Linked DNA regions of Homo sapiens: region 1 is linked to region 2. Evidence: promoter capture Hi-C in 16 types of primary human blood cells and fetal thymus (Javierre and others, 2016). All regions are on one chromosome and are shown on one strand. The core of a region is centred on a gene start or on the middle of the fragment in contact, and the rest is flanking DNA. Distances in the headings are between cores, read along the strand shown.

Region 1 (5,177 bases), core at 2,328-4,827, 260 kb after region 2:
TACAAAACTCTATCTAGCTACAGATGGCTGATTGGTGCATTTTACAAACATCTAGCTAGCTACAGAGTGCTGATTGGTGCATTTTTACAGAGCACTGATTGGTGCATTTTACAAACCTCTTGTAAGACACAAAAGTTCTCCAAATCCCCACTTGACCCAGGAAGTCTAGCTGGCTTCACCTCTTACATACAGTTCATGTACGATGAGTTTGTGGAGGAATATGAGCCTACCAAAGCAGACAGCTATCGGAAGAAGGAGCTCAGGATGGGGAGGAAGTACAGATCTATATCATAAATACAGCTGGGCAGGAGGACTACACTGCAATTAAAGACAACTACTTCCACTGTGTCTTCTCTATTACAGAAATGGAATCCTTTGCAGCTACAGTTGACTTCAAGGAGCAGATTTAAGAGTAAAAAAAGATGAGAATATTCCATTTCTACTGGTTGGTAACAAATCAGATTTAGAAGATAAAAGGCAGGTTTCTATAGAAGAGGCAAAAAACAGAGCTGACTAGTGGAATGTTATCTATGTGGAAACATCTCCTAAAACATGAGCTAATGTTCACAAGGTATTTTTTGACTTAATGAGAGAAATTCGAGTGAGAAAGATGGAAGGTGACAAAGAGTGGAAAAAGAAGAGGAAAAGTTTAGCCAAGACAATCAGAGAAAGATGCTGCATTTTACAATCAAATCCCAAACTCCTTTCTTATCTCGACTATACTAATAAATATAATTTATAAGCATTGCCACTGAAGGCTCAATTGACTGAAATTACTTTAACATTTTGGAAATTGTTGTATATCACTGAAAGCATGAATTGCAACTGCAATGAAATTCAAATTTACTTAAAAAAGAAATTAATATGGCTTCACCAAGGAGCAAAGTTCAACTTATTTAGTAATTGCCAACAATTATCATGGTCCTGAATGTAGCATGGGAGCTTGTGTTTCTGAGGCAGTCTTTCTTGAAATATTAAAGAAGCGAGATGGGGGTGAGGAGAGGGAGGAAAGAGGACTTCCTCTGGTGTTTTATTATAAAGCTTACATTTTATATCATATTAAAATATCTTGGTCTTCTACTGTCTTGAAAAATGACAATTGTGAACATGATAGTTAAACTGTACCACTTTTTAAAACCATTGTTATGCAAAATTTAGAAGAAAAAGTTATTGGCATGGTTGTTGTATATAGTTAAACTGAGAGTAATTCATCTGTGAATCTGCTTTAATTACCCGGTGATTAAAGTAGTGTAAACTTGTACATGGAAATTTTTGAATATGCCTTAATTTAGAAACAGAAAAATACCCGGTTATATCATTCTGGGTATGTTCTTACTGACACCAGGGGTCCACTGCCTCATGTGTCCTGGTGAGAAAATATATGCCCAGCATGGAGTACAGCTTTGGTATAGAAGATTCTTGAGAAGTAACTGCCTGCTAGGAGCCTGTCCAAATTTAAAATGTGTGCCACACTCTGGTTCTTGAAAATAAGATTCCAGAGCTCTTTGATCACTTTTAATAAACTTCAAGTTCATTTAAAATGAAGGGCCAGCATATACTTGTAAGATAATTTTCAGCTGCAAGGATTCAGCACCAGTTATGTTTGAATGAACCCTCTTTTTCTTTAAGATGCTGGTCCCTGGAAATCACTTTCTGCCAGTGGTGAGCATGTAAGTGTTAAGTTTTTGATCTCCTGGGAGTAGGGCACAGGAAGAAAATGTCAATAATGCTAATGCATTTTGCACTGTTGAATGAAGAACACTGTAGCTTCACTTTCAGGAGTTAACATCAAGCAGTCAGACCTGGGTACTGTGCAGAAAACATGTTTGGCACACACTGACCAAACATCAGGCTGTGTCACCGTTGTGTGGTGTTCCTGCCGGAAGAATTCTAGCACGCTATTTGGGGACATAATTTCAGTGGGAAATATGCCACTGTCCGATTTTTTTTTCCTCTTTGCAGTGGAACTAGGACAGTTGATTCAACGGAGTATTTTTTTTCCTTTTGCTCAGTCCTGATTTAAACAGGTCAAAGATGTGTTCAGGCATTCCAGGAAACAGGTGTGTGTGTAAAGTTAAAAATAGACTTTCTAGGAACTCACTCATTAGATATTACATCCAGTTTCTCTGTTAAATATTTGTCATTAAAGGGTTTGAGAGGTACATCTTTCATTTTGTATTTCTCATAGGCTATGTCATGTGCAGAATTCAAGTTACCAGTGTAACACTGGCCAGCGGGCCCAGCAATCTCCACGTGTACTCATTACAGTCTTGTTTAACCAGAGGTCCTAACCACTAACATTGTGACTTTGCTTTGAGACCTCTCCTTTCCTGGGTACTGAGGTGCTATGAAGCCAAATGACAAAGATGCATCATGTGTCTTAGGCTGATGCCACTACCCGATTTGTTTAGTTGCAATTTGAGCCATTTAAAGACCAATAAACTTCTCTTTAAAATATATATATATTTAAATTAAATAATATATATGTGATTTACACCCACAAGAGTAGAGCAAGTAATAAGTATACTTTATACAAACAGCCAAAAAAAATAATAGTTAAAACCGTACATTTTAGTCACTTCAAAATATTTACGGGCCAGGCACAGTGACTCATGCCTGTAATCCCAGCACTTTGGGAGACCAAGGGCGGGTGGATCACCTGAGGTCGGGAGTTCAAGACCAGCCTGACCAACATGGCAAAACCCCACCTCTACTAAAAACACAAAATTAGCCGGGCGTGGTGGCGCGTGCCTGTAATCCCAGCTACTCAGGAGGCTGAGGCAGGAGAATTGCTTGAACCAGGGAGGCAGAGGCTGCAGTGAGCTGAGATTGAGCCATTGCACTCCAGTCTGCACAACAAAGAGTGAAACTCCATCTCAAAAAAATATGTATATACATATATAGAGATAGATATAGATATAGATATGTATGTGTGTATCTAGATAGATAGATACATACATACATACATACATACATACATAGATTACATAGCTTTTATTGTTCCAGGCACTGTTTTAAGAGCTTTTATAAAAAAGTAACTGATTACTCTCATAAAATATTTTGTGAGTTAGATGCTAACGCTAATATGATCCTTTTTCACAGATGAAAAGGAAACAGAGAAGTTAAGTAACTTGCCCCAAGTGACACGGTAAGCAGTGACAAAGCCAGAGTTAGAACTTATCAATCTCATTCTAGAGTCTGTTTGATGCTCTGCCTTCTTTCTAATAATCCTTTATTATTGATTAGAAAATTACAAATTTACATCTTCTTATCAGAATTTAGATCTGCAGAGTTTAGCACAATCAAGTTAAATGTGTTAGAATGAGATCATGTTTTCTGCAGGGATGTGGGTGGAGCTGGAGGCCAATATCTTAGCAAACTAACACAGGAGCAGAAAACCAAACACCACAGGTTCTCACTTTTAGGTGGGAGCTGAATGATGAGAACACATGGACACAGGGAGGGGAACAACACACACTGGGGCCTATGGGAGGATAGAGGGTGGAAGGAGAGCGAGAATCAGGAAAAATAACTATTGGGTGCTAGGCTTAGTACCTGGGTGATGAAATAATCCATACAACAAACCCCCATGACACAGTTTACCTATGTAACAAACCTGCACTTGTACCCCTGAACTCAAAAGTTTAAAAAAGAGAAATAATAGCCACAAAAGAAAACTCACAATGGCAAAAGCTCAATCAGCACAGTTTGATATGAACTATGATTTAATAATTGCCAGAATTTCCAGTAATTTCCACCAAAAAAGTTGATGGCAGTGAAAACAACTTCTGAAAACTAAAATTAAAAATTTTTAAAAATTAAGGGACAAAAAGATGCCATGCAAAATAGTTATTAAAGAGTGAAACAGGTTTCATGGAGTTTGCTTTTAGATACCAGCCAAGATGGACTCAGTAATGGTATGGTAACAGATAGCAACCACACTTTAGTCTTTCTGTGATTTGAAGTGAAAAGCTCATTGATTTTTATTGAAAGTCTCAACAGAAGGCAATGCTACAGACATGTAGCATGAATGTCATTGTTTGTGGTGTCAAGCATCTCATATTTCACTGGCCACAGCAAGTCACATGACCAGGTCTCCCTTTAGGTAAGTTGTGCCATGCCCTGAATACTCAGAAATAGGAGAGCCACTTATTAGCAAGCAGTTAGTTCAATCAAAATTCATCAGCATGTGGTTCCCAGATAAATATACAAAATTAGCGCTTTGATTACAAGGAAGACAGAGCAGCAGGAAACGTCTGTAGGGCAGCCAACCAACATTTTCTGCCACCATAAATGTTGGCAATAATAAACTTCATGACAAAGCCAGCATTCATTAAGAGCTCAGAAAATGCCAGGCACTGTGCTTCTTATATGTTTTCTTATTTAATTCCCAAGTCCTACAAGGGAAGCACATTATTGCCTATGTTACAGAAAGGAAAACTGAAGAACGAAGATTAAAATACTTTTGCAGATCTGGTAAATGTTGAAGCTAAGACAAGAACCTAAGCAGTCCGATTAATACCCCTCTTAGAACTACTCCCTCATTGTGCTTCCCTTCTGAATTGCACGATTCAGAGCATAAAGCACTTTATCTCTGGATATTGCAGGCTTTGCAAGAGTATTCATCTGTGGATCTTGAGTGCAAAATAAAATTTGACCCTGGTGGTTTAGCTATAACTGGAAAGGACAACTTCCATGACATTTTCTCGTAAAGCCCGTTGCCAACATCATCGAGAACAGCATGTGCTCTTCCAGATTACAGTGATAAGAAGGTTGATGTTGCTGAGAGCCGCAAGTCCTGATGAAGCAGCACTTCTCTAGGAGAGGGACGTTTCCGCTGGCCTCCGCTGAATCCTGTGCATTGGCTTCTTAGGGAGGAACTGGCTGAAACTGCTGGAAAACCACATCCATGGGATTCATGCTGTTGGAAAGGCTGTCAACAGGAAATGGTCAACAAATTGCCCTAAACCCGTGGAGCTTGCAGAGGGGCATTGCTGCCATTCTGTCTGCACATAGCCATGCTGTCTACTCACTTGAAGACTATAAGACCCCTTCCATTCTAAGGCAGGAGTAATTGAAGAAAAAGGGAATCTCTACCTAAATAAGTTGTATTCAAATTATTCATCTATACCTGGGAATTTACGCCAATCATACCAAAATAAAATATAGCTAGTACA
Region 2 (5,642 bases), core at 3,143-5,642:
CTGTGGGCTCCCAATTTTCTTTCAAGAATTTCCTTTTTTTTTTTTTTTTTGAGACTGTGTGTCATTCTGTTACCCAGGCTGGAGTACAGTGATGTAATTTCAGCTCATCGCAACCTCCACCTCCAGGGTTTAAGCAATTCTCATGCCTCAGCCTCTCACATAGCTGGGGCTACATGTGTGTGCCACCATGCCAGGCTAATTTTACATTTTTAGTAGAGACGGGTTTTGCCATGTTGGCCAGGCTGGTCTCGAACTCCTGACCTCAGGTGATTCTCCTGCCTTGGCCTCCCAAAGTGCTGGGATTACAGGTGTGAGCCACCACACCCAGCCAATAGTTTCCTTTTTTACTTAGAACAGCCATAATCTGACTCTTTACTTGAAACTAGAAGTCATCACAATATGAGATAATTGAGGAGAATCAGAGCTCTGATTTCTGCCTGCTCATGAATTCCCTTGAAAAAGTGAGGTTGGTTTCTTTGCCAGTCTTTGTCTCAGTTTCCACATTTGTAAAATGGGGCTAGCTCTGTAGCATGCTTCGAGGAAAATTAATCTGTGAGATGTTCTCTCATACAGGTTTCTTCCTTTGGAGAATCTAATGGCATGCTGCTCTATTGAGTTTCCGGAAATTCCTCTAGTAAGGGATTTAATTTGACTTTAATTCAGCATTTCCCAAGCTTAATCATGGAAGTCTTGTTTCAGAAAACATTAATATCTCACAGATTGAGTCATCCATAAACTATCTTGGCAAGAGACACTGGCTCCAGCAGTTCATTTTTCTTTGAATTTGCACCTGACACTGATCTCTGTTATTAAACACTCATGAGGCCTTTAAGGAGTCTCTGTATTAACCCATTAAAGTAGGAAGTTCTTAAACTTCAGAGCATATAAAAACCATTTGAGGACCTTGGTATAATGCAGATTGCTGAGCACCATACAAGATCTACTAATTCAGAATCTCCTGGAATAGAGACAAGGAATTAGAACTCAGAATTACTCTATGGGGGATTGTGTTGTATGCAGTCTTCAGTCTACAGTATGAGAAACACTGTCTTATGTAACAATTCAGTGAAAAATACCTTCAAGCAATTTATGTACTTTATCATTAGAAGAAGCTAGAGGTCATAGTCACAATAATATATCTCACTGGTCTGACCATTAATCATCTTCTGAGATGTCTCAGGCAAGCTTATAGATAACTTGTGAATACCCACCCAAAACGTACTGAATGGCTCTGATCCCAACTTCAAAAAGATGTAACATTAAAATTCAAATGTGTCTGTAGGTGCCACTATGAGATCAATAATTTGGGCACATCTAGTTAAAGTGTGAATAGCCACAGCTGTATGTGGTGTCTTACACCTATAATCCCAGCTACACAGAAGGCTGAGGTGGGAGGATAGCTTGAGTTCAAACTTGAACCAGGAGTTCAAGGCCAGTTTGGGCAACATAGTGAGATAGCAAGATTCCATTTCTTAAAAAACAGTCTGAGTGTCTCCCTCACTCCTGCTACCTATCTATAGCTTATTCATTCTCACCATAAACTCACTTAGTGAGAAATCAAGGTTAAAGGAGTAGGGAAGAAATTTAAGTAATTTAATTTTATGACTTTTTAGTAACTCAGCTCAAAGACTCTAATGATAGGAAGCCTGGAATGAATAACTAAAATGTTATTTTTAGACTATCTGTGAATTTCATTTCCTCTCATTACCACAAATGATGAAAAATTAGCTGTCAGAAATTTCAAAGCAATATAGCAGAACATGATGGAAAAACAAATTAATCAAGTCACCATCTTCCGAAACATTTTTCCTTTATTAGAATTCTTCAGGTAATATGACGAAGATAACAATACTGCATTTCTTTAAAATATGCTGTACATTTCCTCATAGGAAAAAGGGTGAGTTATGGTGACCAGTGACATTAACTGGAAACAAGCAAACTTTTGGTTCCTGGGCCACTAGTTGTATTTACTTTAAGAAAACCCTAAAGATGATTTGCAGTCTTTCAGAGAGTTTACTTTTATGTTTACAGCCCAAAATGTGCAGATAACTTGTTTGTAAATAACTGGCAGGGGTCACAGTGTCACATCTAGGAGATTTCATTTTATTTTATTTCGACAACCAGAGTTACAGCCTCTTTACAACTGAGAAGTGGTAATAAATGGTATTGTGCTTATTCTTCAACAACTCCATAGCACTGGCACCTGACATATATTTGCATGAATTTCATGTAACAAAATGTAGAAATCTTTCTTTCTAAAGGGCTTCAAAATTTCCCGAAACAGACTTCTGAACTTCATTTTATTCCTCTTGCTACATGGTTGTTCTGGATTAGTATATATATCAACACCTAAAAACAGAGTTACAAAAATTAGTGCATACCTCATCAATTTCATAAAGTTACATCCTTTCTTGTTTGCATACATTTATATTTTATTTATTACTGTAACTGCCACTTACAACCCAGCAACAAAGAGTTGTATTTTAGAATATTATGGAATGGTGATATGATAGACACTTTAAAGTGTATTGACATGTCCTTATGGGAATTAGGGATTTAATTTTTTTTTTTTTTGATTGAAGCACTGCATGTCTCAAGGGTGGCTGCATTCAGTAGGTCTGTGACATAACCCCTGGAAAATACCCAGGCTGCCCAATGGAAGAGTCACTAATCAGATATTGAATATGATATTTTTGTGTTCAAATTTTCAAGTCCTCACACCCATCCTAACTAATTTTTAGGCCTTTCCTTTAAGACAACCAAAAAACAAAACTATAACTGTTCAAACTTGGAACTAAGGAAAGGAAATAAATATTAAAGCGGAGCTGGATTTATTTCTATTTATTTAGAGTACATCACCTCCAGTAGAATTATGTTGCTAAGGTTGGGATCACGGCTTTGGTCTCGCGAAGGGACCTGCTTTGCAGATCCAGGGCTCGTTTAATTTTCCAGCTGGGTTCCTGCTTTGCTTAACTAATCCTGTGCACCCCGTTGTGCGGTCCACACCTGAAAGGGGGAGTTTCGATGTTGTGGTTTATTAACCAGGTACTTTCCATTCACTCAGTCAACAGAAAGAAAGAGAGAGACCGCGCCTCCTACTTTTTTTTTTTTTTTTTTTTTAACTACAAATAAGGAGACGGAAACTATTAAATAAGAAGGGGGGAAACTCCCGCATATTTCACCTTGACCTGGCTGGACTGGTCTGCTGCCTCTAAGAGGCGGGTGTTGTATTAAAATGAGAGGTCAAACTCCTCGAATGGGAATCGCTCCTGCCCCTAGAGGGAAAAGAGAACCATCACCGTGTTAAACTGGAAACACTGCCTTGTTTCCAATGCGGGGGACTGAGTTCCCTCCCTCGACTTAGCGTGGTAATGACAGGACCCGAGGAGGCGCGCTGCTTCCGGGCAGTTGCCCAGCATAACACCCGCACCCTACTTGCACCTAAATTTCTGAGCTGCAAGCAGGCAGAAGTGCCTTCCACTTTCTCTCCTTAGCTCCCCTCTCCCCGCTTTGCTGCTGTCTGTAACTTTTTGTTCCGTTTACTGGGAAGGTGACGCTTAAGATCAAAAGACCCACTGTAACTTGCAAAAGCCCAGAGCCACCACCAGACGCTGGGGAAAAACAGGGCTGTCCAGTCCAGGGTTAAGGTTTTGAGCAGAGAAGGAGCAGCGAGAAATCTCGGCCAGTCGCTCCGGGAACAGCCCCTGCAGACTGGTCCAACTCTCCAAAGGCTAGGGACACCGGGGCAGCCTTGTGGTGGGGTAGAGGACGAGCTCCTAACTGCAAGCAAAGTGCTGAGTAGAGGGCGTTGGGGGCAGGGGAGGTCCCTTGACTCCACTTTGTATGCAGCAGCTGCGGGGCAGTGAGTATCTCCGAACAAAGCGGCGAGCAGCGCGGGGGTGAGAGATTGGGGTTTGCTCGCAGCTGCCGCTGGCGCTGAGCGAGTCTCCCACCACCCCCGCGAGCGTTGGGGTGCAAGGATTCGGGGGAGGAGGGAGAAGGGAACGAGGCGTGCCATTCCTGTTGCGCGGCTACGCTTCAGGAGTTCTTGTGAACGATGGGAATGGCAACTATCAGAGCCAAGGGGGAAAAGAAAGAGCTGGAGTGAGCAAAACAAAGAGCGAGTGTGGGCCGCGGTGACTTCATGCCTCACCAATGTCCCGCCCACGCTGCTCCGAGCTGTTACTGCTGCTCCTGCCCGGGCTGCAGCCGCGCCTGCGGGCAGCCGAGGCGAGGCGCTCCGGTAGCGTGGGGAGGTTTCCTAGCAACTCTCTGCCCTGAGTGCACCCGGCTACCCGCAGGTCTGGAGCCCCCCGGGGGGCCAGAGCAGGACCACCCCTCTCCCGCCCATCGCCGGCCTCGCCTCTCTCGCATCCTAGCCGTGTGCACCCCAGAGCGCGCCAGCAACTCGGGCTCTGGACTGCGGGACGCCTGAGCCGCGCACTGAGGCGAAAAGGACAAGGGCACGCAGCCCCCGCCCCGCGAAGCCGGGCTCCGGCACCTCGCGGAACCTCCCCTCCTGCGCTCGCAGCCGCAGGCCCCACTCCCCGCCAGGGAGGGAGCGGCGATGCCTCGCTCTGTGCCTGCGGGTGTCGGCGGGTGCTTCTAGGGCGCTCCCAGAGCCGCCTCCCCCTGTTGCTGGCATCCCGAGCTTCCTCCCTTGCCAGCCAGGACGCTGCCGACTTGTCTTTGCCCGCTGCTCCGCAGACGGGGCTGCAAAGCTGCAACTAATGGTGTTGGCCTCCCTGCCCACCTGTGGAAGCAACTGCGCTGATTGATGCGCCACAGACTTTTTTCCCCTCGACCTCGCCGGCGTCCCCTCCCACAGATCCAGCATCACCCAGTGAATGTACATTAGGGTGGTTTCCCCCCCAGCTTCGGGCTTTGTTTGGGTTTGATTGTGTTTGGCTCTTCGCTAAGCTGATTTATGCAGCAGAAGCCCCACCGGCTGGAGAGAAACAAAAGCTCTTTTCTTTGTCCCGGAGCAGGCTGCGGAGCCCTTGCAGAGCCCTCTCTCCAGTCGCCGCCGGGGCCCTTGGCCGTCGAAGGAGGTGCTTCTCGCGGAGACCGCGGGACCCGCCGTGCCGAGCCGGGAGGGCCGCAGGGGCCCTGAGATGCCGAGCGGTGCCCGGGCCCGCTTACCTGCACCGCTTGCTCCGAGCCGCGGGGTCCGCCTGCTAGGCCTGCGGAAAACGTCCTAGCGACACTCGGCCCGCGGGCCCCGAGGTGCGCCCGGGAGGCGCGAGCCCGCGTCCGGAAGGCAGTCAGGCGGCGGGCGCGGGGCGGGCTGTTTTGCATTATGTGCGGCTCGGCCCTGGCTTTTTTTACCGCTGCATTTGTCTGCCTGCAAAACGACCGGCGAGGTCCCGCCTCGTTCCTCTGGGCAGCCTGGGTGTTTTCACTTGTTCTTGGACTGGGCCAAGGTGGTAAGTTGTTTTGTTTTGTTTTGTTTTCTTCTCTTCCCCAAAGGTCTTGGGCTGGCACGAAGAGCTGCCCGGCCAGAGCATCCCGGCCAGGTAAGTTGCGGTCATCAGAGAACTTCAAGGGGGCGGGTGCGGGGCAGCGTCCTCCAGCACAGATGGCCTAGAGGCCAGGTGTCAAGCATTTCTGCCCTGGAGCGACAGCAAGGACTAATTATCAGA

Evidence for each region. The method cuts DNA at HindIII sites, captures the fragments that hold promoters and counts their contacts. A CHiCAGO score of 5 or more calls a contact.
Region 1: a contact is called between a fragment that was not itself captured here and the fragment with the promoter of ITGB8 in region 2, in 4 of 17 cell types (monocytes, M0 macrophages, M1 macrophages and 1 more). The highest score is 9.9, in monocytes.

Annotation. Positions count from the first base shown.
Region 1 is chr7:20,589,405-20,594,581 of GRCh38, forward strand. It overlaps the pseudogene LOC402641. Among named protein-coding and RNA genes, the nearest start is that of ABCB5, 24 kb to the right of the region's middle. The HindIII fragment of the contact is 5,077 bases long and covers 1,040-5,177 here.
Region 2 is chr7:20,326,508-20,332,149 of GRCh38, forward strand. It overlaps ITGB8 (integrin subunit beta 8), which reads left to right and starts at 4,393. Exons shown (of 14, transcript NM_002214.3): 1 at 4,393-5,426. The coding sequence starts at 5,300. ITGB8-AS1 (ITGB8 antisense RNA 1) reads right to left here and starts at 5,255. Exons shown (of 3, transcript NR_110120.1): 1 at 5,143-5,255; 2 at 2,860-3,006; 3 at 1,794-2,349. RefSeq lists enhancers at 3,014-3,626, 3,714-3,783, 3,884-4,173 and silencers at 4,254-4,643, 5,114-5,353. The HindIII fragment of the contact is 8,395 bases long and covers 1,184-5,642 here.